Regions from separate parts of the Homo sapiens genome. Here regions 1 and 3 are each linked to region 2. Evidence: promoter capture Hi-C in human tissues and cell types (Jung and others, 2019). All regions are on one chromosome and are shown on one strand. The core of a region is centred on a gene start or on the middle of the fragment in contact, and the rest is flanking DNA. Distances in the headings are between cores, read along the strand shown.

Region 1 (4,329 bases), core at 243-2,742, 540 kb before region 2:
GAGGCCTCTAAATCTCAGGGCAAACATGGTGAATCTATCTCTCCGGAGATAATTTCATACAGAGATTTTAAGAAAACATCTTTATATTAAAAACAGATCTCATTTGATCCTTAAGCCAGTCTCATGAATGAAAAGGACAGGTTTTTTTCTTTTGTAAATGAAGCATTTGCAGCTTAAAGAGGATGCATGAAATAACCCTTTTATCGCTTATAAATAGTGCCAGTTATGTGTTCCTGCCACGGCTGTGGAAATACTTCACATTTGCATTCCAGGACTGTTTTGGATCCATTTGCCCGAGAATCTTCTGACTAACTCTGTGTCCTCATCTGGGCAGCACACACCAAGTGCCCACTGGTACCTCTGCATGTCCATGGTGCTGTGTGACTGGCCAGCCAGCAGCCAGTGACTCAGAGCTGGCTGTATGGAGGGGGTGGGAATGTTTCTGGAGATTTTTGTTTTTCCAGACACAGTCTTGCTCAGTCCCCTAGGCTGGAGTGCAATGGCACCATCTCCGCTCACTGCAACCTCCGCCTCCCTGGTTCAAGCGGTTCTCCTGCCTCAGCCTTCCAAGTAGCTGGGGTTATAGGCACCCACCACCATGCCGGGCTAATTTTTGTATTTTTAGTAGAGATGGGGTTTCACCATGTTGGCTAGGCTGGTCCCGAACTCCCGACTTCAAGTGATCCGCCTGCCTTGGCCTCCCAAAGTGCTGGGATTACAGGCATGAGATTTTTACTTGAGATTTTTCCATCCTCTTTTAGGACTCAGGATAGACTTGTGTGGAGGTGCTCTCTGGCTAAGGGGATAAGTTGTTACTGGTTTGGGTCTGCTTGGTTTTGCCTTGGGTGGGGCCGGTGTCGATGGGGCAGGCTTGGCACGAGCAGTGGTGCCATGGCAGGGCACTGTGGCATCTCCCCTAGCAGTGGATTTGGGGTCCCTGCTTGCCTCACGTGGTGCTTACACACATGTACACACACACACACACACACACACACACACACACCTTACACACATGTACACACACACACACACACACACACACACACACACACACACACACACACACACACACACACACACACACACACCCCTGTTCTGCAGGGCTTCAGCGTGGCCTTCATTCCCGCCTCGCCTCGGCCTCTTTTCAATTAAGAAGTGATGCCACTTGAGGCAGGGTCTGCATGATCACTTCTTGGGTTTCAGTTTGAAAGCTGCCATCCCTGCGACTGCCCAGGGCCTGTATGTTGGGACCGAAGCCAAACACCACTGTCCTCCAGGGGGCTTTCGGCCCGGGGCAGGGTCCCCAGTGCCCGCCTTCGAATCAGACTCCGCGTTTCCGCCTCTCCCTGGGCGGACCTGCCGCTAGAGGGCGCTCCTCCTCCGCAGCCGGCGCCGGCCTCCAGCGCCCCAGACTCCCGCGCTGCCGCCCGAGCCTGAGGTTTCTCACGGCGTTCGGGATTCGCGCTTCGGAAACCGGGAACAAAGAAGCAAGCAGCACCCTTCAGAAACAGTGTTCTCGCTCTCCTAGCAGCTGGCCCGGGCCCGGAGGCTGGTGCCAGGAGAAGGCAGAAGAGCCCGGGCAGCCGGAGTGGGCTACGGGGTTCAGGCAGTGCCAAGGAAGAAGGGCCTCACAATGGGCAATTCAGCTGCCTCCCGGGCCGTTGTCCCCGCTGTCTTCAAACAGGGGTCCCCTGTCCCAGCTGCCCCAGGAGGAGGGGGGGAGGCAGGCAGGGCCGAAACCCTCCAGAGCCCAGAGGGGGACGCTTGGTGGCCGCTGCAGTTACATAACCATAGGATGCTTTTGTACCGTGGACCTTGTTCTAGCAGGATCCTTTCGGAATTGCACTTTTACATGTTGGGCGAATTTGTGTCCGTGCTGAAGTTTATTAAAGGAAAATAGATGGAGCCTTGGAGTTGCACGTGTGCGTCCCTGCCTGGGAACTAGAGGAAGGAGGGCCACATACTCTGGGTCCCCATCAGCAGACCCGAACGTCAGAGAAGCTGCATGTGCGTCTACTGGGATCTTCTGAGTAAGCTAGAACTGCTGGGCCGGCCTGTGCAGGTTGTTCTGGCTTTTAATCGTTTCCAGTGATTGAAAAGCCCAGGCTACCATCCCTCCAAATAACTCCAGTGCTAACTCAAACCTCATATTCACCATTCACTTTCCGGCAGCTTAGAACCTACCGGGGCGCAGGACGTAGTTTTCGTCTTTACCAGAGTGCGTGGCCGGGCGCGGTGGCTCACACCTGTCATCCCAGCATTTTGGGAGGCCCAGGCGGTCGGATCGCCTGAGGTCAGGAGTTCAAGACCAGCCTGGCCAACGTGGTGAAACCCTGTCTCTACTAAAAGCACAAAAATTAGCCAGGCGTGGTGGTGGGCGCCTGTAACCCCAGCTACTCGGGAGGGTGAGGCAGGGAGAATCGACTGAACCCAGAGGCAGAGGTTGTAGTGAGCCGAGATCATGCCACTGCACTCCAGCCTGGGCAACAGAGTGAGGCTCTGTCTCAAAAAACAAAACAACAACAACAAAACAAAAAAAGAGTGAGAGGACAAAACAGGTGTATATTCCCATTTTATAGATGACATAACTGAGGCCCAAAGAAGGAAAGTGACTCACTCAGTGTCACAGTAAATCCACGGCAGGACCAGGGCCAGAACAAAAGTCTCCTGAGTGGCACTCTTCACTATCACATAACACTGTGGCTCGCAACAGCCCTGGAAGCAAAGCCAGTTGGGGTCACCAGGCACCTAGACCCTCACTGCTTGTCTGCTGGCAGAGAGCCGCTCCTTCTTGTCAGAGTAAGTAGGAAGGAGGCCTTTGCCTGTGCGGACCTATGGTCTGGTGACTCCAGCCAGCACAAACCCATCCCCTGATGGTTGGAGGCTGGGCAAGGGCTTCTTGCAAGATGCGCCTGACAGTGCCTTGTTACAGAGCACCTGCTGTGCTTAGCATTCCACCCGGGGCCAAGAGGCTGTGTGAGCAGGTGACAGCCAGCCTGGCCCCGCCTGTCACAAGCTGCTAGGTCTGCACCCTTGCCACCCATGGCAGGGGGTCTGACAAAGACTCCCCATTTGTGAGGTCTGTTCACTGCCTGTATTTCGAACAGGGCCTGGCTCTGCAAACCTGTGCAAACTGTGTTGATATAGGAGCCGACATGAGCAAGCAGAGGCTCCCCTGGCTCAGGCAGCCCCAGGTTGGGTTGGCCAGACAGCAACCAGGCACAGGGGCCAAGTGCAGGTCCTGCTACCCAGCCACCACAGCTTCCTCTCACCTGATTCTCACAGCAACCCAGGCAGGATAGGCAGGGTGGGGTTATCTTATTTTGCAGAAACAGGCTTTCCCAAGTCTGTCACCAAGTGAGGGGTAGAGCTGGGTGTCCAGCCAGATCTAACCTCCAGCCCAGAGCTGGTGATGCGGAAAATCAGGGCAGATGGCAGCAGGATCTAAAATAGGGAGGGAAGAAGTCCTCAGTTACGTAACAGCGAGGAGACTCTCAGCCTACGCACAGTAGCAACCATGGGGTCCTGCCACTCGAGCCAGACCCTCCTTCCCTTCCCGTTTTGGGCTCTAAGTGCTGCCCCCTGTGAGAGAATGTGCTGGAGGAGCCCCCAGTATCCTTCCAGCGGGAAGTCGGCTCTGTCAAGGCCATTCCCGAGAGCAGGCTCTAGGAATTCAAAGACCAAGCAGGCAGAGCTGGATTCTGGAGCTGCCCTCAAAGGGCTTGAGGGTTATATGAGCGCCGTGCTTGAGAAGTTAGTGATGATTTCTGCTCAAAGAGACAGAGCAAGAGGGCTGAGGGGCTCTGGTGCTCTGGGGGAGATGAAACAACCCCACAGTATATGAGGCCTCTCTGGTGTGTGCGGGCACTAAGGAAGGGTGACTTGCGAGTGGCGCATTCGGAGGCACGGGGTGGGCAGCTGTTGAGCAAGGGACCAGGGCTGGGACAGGCTGCCAGGACCCCCACAACCCCAGGGGAGGAAAGGGGACTCAGCCATCATCATGCCTGACTCCCAGGCTCCCGGATGAGGAGCCTGCTAGCCAGGGCTTGAAGCCCTCCAGTGACAGGGGGTGCATTACTTCCTAAGAAGCCATTTCCTTGGTTCAGAAACGTTTATCCAAAGACTGAGCCGAAATCTACCACCTCACTTAATGTTTTTGGCACCTGGTTATGACCCAGACCTGCACAGAATAATTTAACTCTTCTGAAATAGACTTCCAGATATTTGGAAGTGGCCAAGTCAGGTTTAAGAGCTCAGGTCTCCCATTTGACAAGATTTCCATCTCCTCGCTGTCTGAACAGGTTTCAGCTGTGGTTATCCAATCCCTCA
Region 2 (4,488 bases), core at 375-2,874:
GAAGTCATGGAACTGAGCCGGGCATGGTGGCGGGGCCTGTGGTCCCAGCTGCTCGGGAGGCTGAGGCAGGAGGATCGCTGGAGCCTAGAAGTTCAAGGCTGCGGTGAGCCGAGATCGTGCCACCGCACTCCAGCCTGGGCGACAGAGACCCTGTATCTAAAAAATAAAGGAAAAAATTCATGGAACTGTATACTTCCATGTACTGTACTTAAATTTCCTGGTATTTATCGTATGTATAGAATACCTCACATCTTAATAAAGTCGTCGTTTTTAGTGTGAGGGGTGCTATGGGGCACGGAGGGCGATCCGGCTGCCGACCCTCGGCGGCGGCGCGGGAGTGCGAGGCCGGCGGGGAGGTCGGGTCCTGCGGCCTCGCCGGGGCCCCTGCAGCGCTCTCCCGCCAGGGGGCAGCGTCGGGCCGGCGGCGCGGGCGGGAAGCTCCAGCGGCCGGGACGCGGTGGTGCCGTCTTCCCCCTGCGGTGAGGGACCGCGTCGCGCCACCCCGCTCTCAGCGCAGCCCGCAGCGGCGAGGCCACCGGGTGGGACACGGGTGCCCGCGCGTCGCGCCGCAGCTCGCGGGGACCTGGCGCCCCGTCCCGGGAGGGGATCTGGCCCCCGGGCGCCGGCTCTCCGTCCACGCGGCGTCCTCCCTGCAGCCCGCTAGGGCCGCTCGCCCGTCGCCGCCTGCGGAACGCGGAGGGGCAGCACGGCCACGCCCGGCCACTCGAACCTGCTCCCCGGCGCCGCGTGACCGTGTCAGGTCCCCGTCGGCCTCGCCGTGCCGACCCCGGGCGCCTCCACAGTGGCTCGGAGGCCGCTGCTGCCCGGATGCCCGGGTTCCACGAGGCTCTCCCAGCCCGACAAGCCCGCCGATCCCACGGGCACGGGCGGAGGAGAGGGAACCGCCGCGCCCGCCCCGCGCGCCGTCGCCGACCCCGGTGGGTCGCGCTTCCCCGCGCACGCCGCGCTCTGGCGCGGGGAGAGGCCCCTCGGGGTCCGCCCGGGTCAGCGTCCCGCGGGGGTGGCGGCCGTTCGCTCAGCCTCCTCTCGACTTCCCTTTCCTGTCAGGGCTGCTGGGGCTGACAGGCTCCCGGGCAACCACGCCGGGGAACCCCTCACGCCCGCCGATCGCTGCGGGGCTCAGCAGCCGCCCCGTGCGCTGAGTCCCCTGTCATGAGTGACTCCATTGCGAGGCGTTTCGGGCCACGAAGCAGGACCGGGGGCCGCACTCCGGGTCCCCGCCCTGCCCTCGCCGACCTCCCGCGCGTGGAAGGGGGACGGCGGCGGCGGAGCTCCCCGCCACGGAGAACCCCGAAATGGTCATTTCGAACGAGAGGAGTGTGGCCTGGGGTGTCTGGTTTAACAGCCCCCCGCGCCGAAAGGCTGTTCGCCGAGGAGGGGCCGCCGGGGAGGGAGCCCGAGCGCGGCGGGGCGAGACCGGTCCCCGCCCGGCGTTGCCCGGCCCGAGGGACGGCGGCGCCCCCAGGACCCTCCCCAGCGCGGCCCCAGCTCGCTCCGGGACCGCGGGGCCAGGCCGGGCGGGAGCGCGGGGACGTACACGGCGGCCCCGCCCGCGCGCTCCTCCTCCCTCCCGGCCCGCCCTGCGCCGGCGGCGGCGGCCCCAGTCTCCGCGCTGCTGAGGCGCGCCCGGCCGCTCCCACGGCCTCCCCTCCGCCCTGCGGTCCCGCCGCCTCCGGGGCCTCCTGGGACCCTGGCCCTCGCCGGGCAGGACGCCGCCAGCGCTGAAGGCGCAGCCCGGAGGCCGCGCGGGTGAGTCGGTGCGCAGCCCCAGCGGCTCCAGAGGAGCGGGTGCGGGGAGGGCGAGCGGACCAAGTCGGCCGCGTTCCCACCTTGCGCGCAGCCGGGAGACCAGCAGGCCCAGCCTCTAGGGAGGAGGGCAGGGGAGCTGGGGGCCGCCCCCCGCATTCTCGCAGGCACCTGTCCCTAGGCCGGGGTCCGCTGGCTCGAAGCACTGACCCGCCCCGGACCTAGGGGGACGGAGGCAGCGGTGACATTTGCCCAGGAAGGGCGGCAGTGGGTAAACTCCACTCCAGGGCACGGGTCTGGGCGCAGGTTGAGGCCTGGGGTTGAATCTGCTTCTGCTAGAGGCCAGTGTTCTCAGGGAGGCCCATAACCCGACTGGGTCTCAGTTCCCCCTGGTATGAAACAGCAACAGGGCAAGAGGAGGAAACCATGCCACGCTGCAAAGCTCTGAGCACGAAGCCGAGAAGAATCTCGGCTCCCGGCCTCGGGGGCTGCACTTCGGGCCAGGCCTGCACTCCCAGGATAAGAGGATGGCCTCCTGCCCCAGGGGTGGCATGGGGGCGCGCAAAAAGCAAAGGTGACCCTGCCAGGGAGCACCCAGCGCTCCGGTTGGTGGTCATGGGGTCTTTGCGTGGGACTCACAGTGTGGCCGGGAAAGTTCTGTAATGAGGACATTTCTCATCATTCCTTCTTCTCAAAAGTCATTCGTCAGCCCCAGACACCTTTGCCTCGGAAAACTGAGAACTACTTTCAAAATCGTCAACACCCCCATCTCCTGCTACAGAGCGGAGTCCCCACTTTGCAGAGGCGCACTGCAAGGTCGCGGGTGGTTAAATGGTGCGCCCTCCTTGATGAAGATGCCTTGTTCTCTTTCACTCTCTATGTGTGTTTAATGTTGTGTGTTGCGTTCTCTGTGAAGCGAAGGATAAACACGGGCCCTTTCAGGCAACCGAAGGAAGAAGGCGGCCAGCATCAGATCTTCCCGTGCTTCAAGGTGGAGCACCCTGCAGGGCTTACTGCAGCGCTCAGGGTCAAAGTGAGGATGCAGTGCGGCACCAAAAGGCAAATGGACTCTGGAGAGCCACTCTCACCTTGTACCCCTGGAGTAGACCCCGAGGACTGGAGGACTGGAACAAGATCTTAGTCCTGAGGGCGGGAGAAGCAGCCTTTGGTGGTTGCACAGGGGCCCGGCTTTTCCCGAAGTCTTAAAGCCTGCTCCAAATGCCAGATTCAGACAAAGGGGCCGAACCTTGGGCCCGCCGCCTTCTCCCATAAGCGGCAACCCAGCAGCTTTGCCAGGAAGTTTACATGTGAAGGTACGGACCTTTCTTGGAATGAGCCACACCTGATGGCCCTGCCACTCCGGACGGCGCTCGTTCACGGCTGTCCCTGGAGCAGACACGGTTCTGCGCACACACCTGGGCGCCGGAGAAACAGGGCACCCAAAGCGGGCCCAGGCCCTCGGACTCAGCGAGCTGGACACGTGTCCCCATCACCCGCGGCTGGCGGGAGCAGTGTTTCTACTCCCTTCCCTCCCCTCCTCCCGCCCCGCAGATGTGCTGTCTTTCCCGGCCTCCCCCCGCGCCCAGCACAGTGGTTTCTGCTTGGCTGTTCCCCTGTCTCTGAGATGGTCTCTCCCTGCTGCTTGCCCTACACATTCTCCCACACAGGCGCGCGGGATGCCCCTGTCGGCGTGGTTGTCAATGCCTGCTCCCCTGCCCCCCAGTCCAATCTCCACGACTCTGGGCCCTGTCGCTTCATCCTAAAGCCTTCCGCTCACGAGCCCTCCCGACGACCGACCCCCAGGAGGCTACTGGAGATGCAGGATTTGGACCCGTGCTGGACCCGCACCCGGACAGATCCCTCTGAATGAATGAATGAATTAATGAGCAGGCTGCATCCTGATTAGGTTAAGGTGGGTGGTTGCCATGCTTGGCGTTGGCTCTGTCCCCTGGGATAAAAGGCGAGAGGCAGCCACATGGACAGCTCCTCCAGTGGGGTCTCAGACTGGAGAGACGCCAGCGGGCGGGGGTCGTTCCCTGGAGCTCCCGCATTTGTTATGGTCGATGCCCCACTACGTTGTCACCTTCTCCGGAGGACCTCCTGCTCTGTCCTTGACAGATGGGCCCCAGTGGGCCCACCCAGGCTGGAGATGAATCTCAAAGGGACTCCATGCCTGGGAGACCTCAGCCAAGCAGGGCAGAGAAATAATCAGACAACAGTCAGCGCATGGCGCCTGCAGAGTTTTGCACAGGGTCCTTCAGAAGGAGGGTTAGGGAAGACTTCTTGGGGGTTAGGGCAGTTAAGCAAGATGGATAAAGAAAGCAACCACTTATGTCTGCATATTTTCTTCATTTCATCTTCACAACAGCCCTGAGATAGGTACTTGTTTTAAAGCTGAGGTATAAATTGGGGTTCAGAGAGATTGAGTGCTTTCACCATGAACAAGTGACAGAGAGCAACGACTTGAACCGGGTTACCTGATGCCACCGCTGGTCTTAACCTCCATGTTATTAGCGTATTGGGTAAGTGAAACCGTGTGAGCCAAGAAGCTGGGGTGAGAAACAGCACGGAATAGAGGAGAGGGCTGCAGAAAGGCGTGATGTTTCTGGAGCACCGAATTCTACTCACGAACACAGGAGTGGAGGCGGGAAGGGGACACTGGAAGCTATGGAGGGCCTTGTCAGCCACAGTAAGGAATGTGGACCTGGTCCTCAGGGTGGT
Region 3 (4,511 bases), core at 1,438-3,937, 560 kb before region 2:
CTGGGACTTAAAGGCGTGAGCCACCACACCTGACTAATTTTCGTATTTTTTGTAGAGATGGGGTTTCGCCATGTTGCCCGGGCTGTTCTCGAACTCCTGAGCTCAAGCAATCTGCCCACCTCAGCCTCCCAAAGCGCTGGGATTACAGGCATGAGCCACCATCCCAGCCAAAACTATAAAACTTTTAGAAAAGAACATAGAAGAAAATCTTTGGGTCCTGGGGGCAAAGAGCTCTGAGACTTGACATCAAAAGCATGCCGCATAATAGGAAAATACTAGACTTTATTTAGGGGTTAAGAGTTTAGACTCTGGACTCTCTCAGCCTTGGTTTCACTAGTTAGCTCTATCACTAACTACATTGGGCATTGAAAATTCCTCTGTTGTCCCACGTGGTGCATGGATGATTGTAGACGAGGACACTGAGATCCTGAAGGCAGAAGTAATTTCTCTAAGCAACGTTGTTGGTTGGTGGCAGAGTCTGGGTTACAACCCCTGGTTTCCTGATTCCGAGTCCAAGTGAAATACTTTTGCCCCTGCAGTAGACCCTGCTACAGAGGATAAAAAGGCACGTCATAGGCTAGGAGAAAAATTTTGCCTACCACATATGTAACCAAGGACTAGCAGCTAGGACATCTGAAGAATTCTCAACATTCAACGGGGTAGAAGAATGAACGATTCAATAGAATATGGGCAAAAGACATGAAGAGGCATTTTACCAAACATAGGGTGCTATGGTCCGAATGTTTGCATTCTCCTCAAATTCCTGTGTTGAAATCCTAACCCCCAAGGTATTGGTATTAGGAGGCAGGGGCCCTGGGAAGTGATTAGGTCATAAAGGTGGAGTCCTCATGGATGGGATTAGTGTCTTTATAAAAGAGACCTTTGCCATGTGAGGTTACAGTGAGAAGACATCTGTCTATGAAGAAAGTGGGCCCTCACCAAACACAGTCTGCTGGCACTTTGCACTTCAACTCCCCAGCTTCCAGAACTGTAAGGAATATAAGTCTGTTGTTGGTAAGCCACCCGGTCTATGATATTTTGTTATAGCAGCCCAAACAGACTAAGACAGGTGACAAATAAACATGAAAAGATGTTCAACATCATTAGCCATTAGGGAAATGCAGATTAAAACCACAGCGAAATATCATGATACAGTTTTCAGCATGGCTAAACTAGAAAATAGTGACACCACCAAATGCCGACAAGGCTGTGGGGAAACTGGGTTGTTCAGACACTGCCACTGGGGCTGTAGCGTACTATAGCCACTTTCATAAACAGTTTGTCAGTTTCTTAAAAAACTAAACCTGCAACTACCATATGACCCAGCAATTACACCCCTGGGCACCTACCCAAGAGAAATGAAAACTCAACGTTTGCGCAAAAACCTGTGTAGGAATGTTCAAGCAGCTTTATTCATAATATGCCCAAACAGGAAACAACTCAGCTGTCCTTCAGTAGGTAAATAGTTAAGCAAATTGTCATACCCCTGTGTCATGGAGCACTACCTAGCAATAACAAGGAGCAAATTATTGATACATAACAATCTGGATGAATCTCCAGAGAATTATGTTGAATGAAAAAAGCCAGCCCCTGAAGGATACATACTGTATGATGCCATTTACATAACATTCTTGAAATTCTAAAATTACAGAGATGGGGAACAGATTTGTGGTTAAAGATGGAGCCGGGTGGGAAGAAAGTAGGTGTGGCTATAAACGGGTAACATGAAGGATCCTTGTGGTGATGGAAATTTCTGTATTTTTATTGTATCCGTGTCAGTATCCTGGTTGTGATATGGTAATACAGTTTTGCAAGATACTACCCTTAGGGGAAATGAGGTAAGACCTGGCATCTCTCTGTATTATTTCTTAATTGCATGTGAATCTACAATTATTTCAAAATAAAAAGTATGATTGAAGTAACTCTCAGGAAGCTTAGCCTACTGTGGATTAAGACATCAAAATTGCAGCAGGCTTTAACAAAGCTATACTACTACAAGGATAGTTCACACTTGAATTAGCTTGAAACATTACCTATCCATGTCATCTTGGAAAGCAGAAAATGGAACTTTATTGGAGTGGGACACTGGATGGCCAGGGTTTAGCAGAGCCTGCCCAACAAAAGTAGCTTCAGAATTGGCTTTATTCTCAGGAAGGCTCTTCCTGGACAGTGGCAAACATAGCCATAGCAAATACTGGCTCACTTTCTATCAGCCAGCAACCCTGGTGGAAAGAGGGCCTCTTACTCAGTTGTACCAGCAAGCTGTCTCCAGGAGCCGGGGCTGGAGAGACACCCAGTGCTGCTCTAGGCCAGTGTGGCTGAGGGTCTGTCTAGTCTGTCCTTGTACTCACGGCTTCCTTTTCTCTTGCAGACGCCCACTATTGCTTGGTTCTACTTCCTTTATCCCGATTGGCCGTCGGACTTATGCCAGTGCGGCGGAGCCGGTGAGTGGAAGCCCAGCTACCCGGGAGCCAGTTGGATGGTCAGAACCCTTTCTTCTGGGCCCCTAGGCCCTGAGCTACCCTCAGAGTGGGGCCTTAGTGTTTCCAGGACACTGGGAGCCACTTTCTCACTTAACCCTCCCCCAAAGCCCCTCATCAGTAATGAGCTCACACACCCCCATCCATGTGGGGAGGAAGCAGTAATGAGGCACTCCAGCCCCTCCCAGCCAGGAAGGTATCACTGGAGGCCTAGGTGGGGGGCGAGAACTCCCAGCCCCACCCAGCAAGTTAGGGGTTAAGAGTTTAGACTCCGGAGGCCCAGGGCGGTGGCTCCCGCCTGTAATCCCAGCACTTTGGGAGGCCGAGGTGGGTGGATCAACTAAGGTAGGGAGTTCAAGACCAGCCTGGCCAACATGGAGAAACCCCATCTCTACTAAAAATACAAAATTAGCCGGGCGTGGAGGTGCATGCCTGTAATCCCAGCTACTTGGGAGGCTGAGGCAGGAGAACTGCTTGAACCTGGAAGGTGAAGGTTTTGCGGTGAGCCGAGACTGGCCATTGCCCTCCAGCCTGGGCAACAAGAGCCAAACTCCATCTCAAAAAAAAGAAGAAGAGTTTAGACTCTGGAATCTCTCAGCCCTGGTTTCAGTTCCAGCTCTATCACTAGCTACATTGAGCGTTTTAAAAAGACCTCTGTTTCTCACATGTAGCATGGGGGATTGTAGATGAGATCCTGAAGGCAGAAGTAATTTTCCCAAGCAACATTGCTGGTTGGTAGCCGAGTCTGGGTTAGAACCTGGCCTTTCCACTATACCATGGTGCTTCTCCAGACAACAAGAACAAGGTAGGGAGGGCCAGGCTTGGGCCACTCAGGAAGCACTAACTCTCACTGCACAGAGGGTGGAGAGGCCTGGTCACTTTGCCCCTGTACCACCGGTTCCTAACATGGAATCTGACCTTGTAAAACAGGTTGGCAGCAAAGCTGTCCTGGTCACAGGCTGTGACTCTGGATTTGGGTTCTCATTGGCCAAGCATCTGCATTCAAAAGGCTTCCTTGTGTTTGCTGGCTGCTTGATGAAGGTAAGAGACGAGTTATCTTCTTCACCATTGTCTTTTACACATAGTCATTGTTTTTTAGTCTTTTAAAAAGTGCTTTCCTAACAACTGGCTCACCTTTGCTTAAACCAGCCTGTCCATTTTCCATCGGCTTCAGTCCCACTTGTTCTTCATAGCTTTGTCCATCCATCATCCATGCATCCATCCATCCATCCATCCTCTCATCTATCCATCATTCGTCAAATGCTATGATGTACCTGACACTTTGCTAGGTGCAGTAGAAGAATGAGACCTTGTCCCTGCCCTGAAGTTGCTCCCTGTCGAGTGGTGAGGAGACAGCCATGCATAGACACAGCTGAAGAATTCGAGTGAAGCAGATTCTCAGGGGTGTGCGAGAATGTTCGGCGAGACTGTGTAGGAGGAAGGGATTGATGATGGCATGCCAGAGGAAGTGACATTTGTTCTGGGCCATGGCGAGTAAATAACACTGCCACAGGTGGAGACTGGGAGGAGTTACCTGCTGGACGGGAGGAATAGCCTGGGCAGAGGCTTGAAAGCATGAGGCTCCTTCGGGACACATTAAGTAGAATTTAAGGTGCATGAAGGGAAGCACTGGGACCCGAGACTGCAAAAGCAAACAGTGGGCAGTGCCCCAGTTAGAAAGTTGTGCGCCCACCACCACAATCCACTTTAGAATACGTCCATCACTCAGAATTCTCTCTCTTGACCATTGGCAGTTAATCTCCACATATACCTCTAGCCCTGAGCAGCCACTGATTTCTATTTCTTTAGGTTTGCATTTTCTGGACTTTTCATCTACATGAAATCATACAATACATGGCCTTTTGTGCCACACTTCTTGAACACTTAGTGTGATGTTTTTGAGAGTCATCCATGTTGCAGAATGCATCAGTAGCTCATTCCTTTGTATTGCTGAGTGGTATTCTGTTGTGTGCCTATGCTATATATATATACATATATGTATATATATATATACACATATATATATATATA

What was found. Contacts are between HindIII fragments. The study calls those that stand out against the background at their distance.
Region 1: a contact is called between a fragment that was not itself captured here and the fragment with the promoter of PIGZ in region 2, in 1 of the 25 tissues and cell types used here (dorsolateral prefrontal cortex).
Region 3: a fragment that was not itself captured here is called in contact with the fragment with the promoter of PIGZ in region 2 in 2 of the 25 tissues and cell types used here (dorsolateral prefrontal cortex and lymphoblastoid cells).

The regions. Positions count from the first base shown.
Region 1 is chr3:197,507,359-197,511,687 of GRCh38, reverse strand. BDH1 (3-hydroxybutyrate dehydrogenase 1) reads left to right here. Exons shown (of 8, transcript NM_203314.3): 8 at 1-1,905. LINC02012 (long intergenic non-protein coding RNA 2012) reads left to right here and starts at 2,027. Exons shown (of 1, transcript NR_145451.1): 1 at 2,027-4,329. RefSeq lists a silencer at 3,196-3,490. The HindIII fragment of the contact is 6,420 bases long and covers 1-4,329 here.
Region 2 is chr3:196,965,969-196,970,456 of GRCh38, reverse strand. PIGZ (phosphatidylinositol glycan anchor biosynthesis class Z (Gwada blood group)) reads left to right here and starts at 1,624. Exons shown (of 3, transcript NM_025163.4): 1 at 1,624-1,770. It overlaps LOC124906255 (collagen alpha-1(I) chain-like), which reads right to left and starts at 1,324. Exons shown (of 3, transcript XM_047449439.1): 1 at 1,208-1,324; 2 at 245-1,061; 3 at 1-156. The coding sequence starts at 1,324. The coding sequence ends at 246. RefSeq lists silencers at 285-504, 515-834, 945-1,004, 1,115-1,174, 1,185-1,394 and 1 more and enhancers at 440-975, 976-1,511, 1,512-2,047. The HindIII fragment of the contact is 30,202 bases long and covers 1-4,488 here.
Region 3 is chr3:197,531,422-197,535,932 of GRCh38, reverse strand. It overlaps BDH1 (3-hydroxybutyrate dehydrogenase 1), which reads left to right. Exons shown (of 8, transcript NM_203314.3): 4 at 2,372-2,444; 5 at 3,411-3,521. Among named protein-coding and RNA genes, the nearest start is that of BDH1, 22 kb to the left of the region's middle. The HindIII fragment of the contact is 6,211 bases long and covers 1-4,511 here.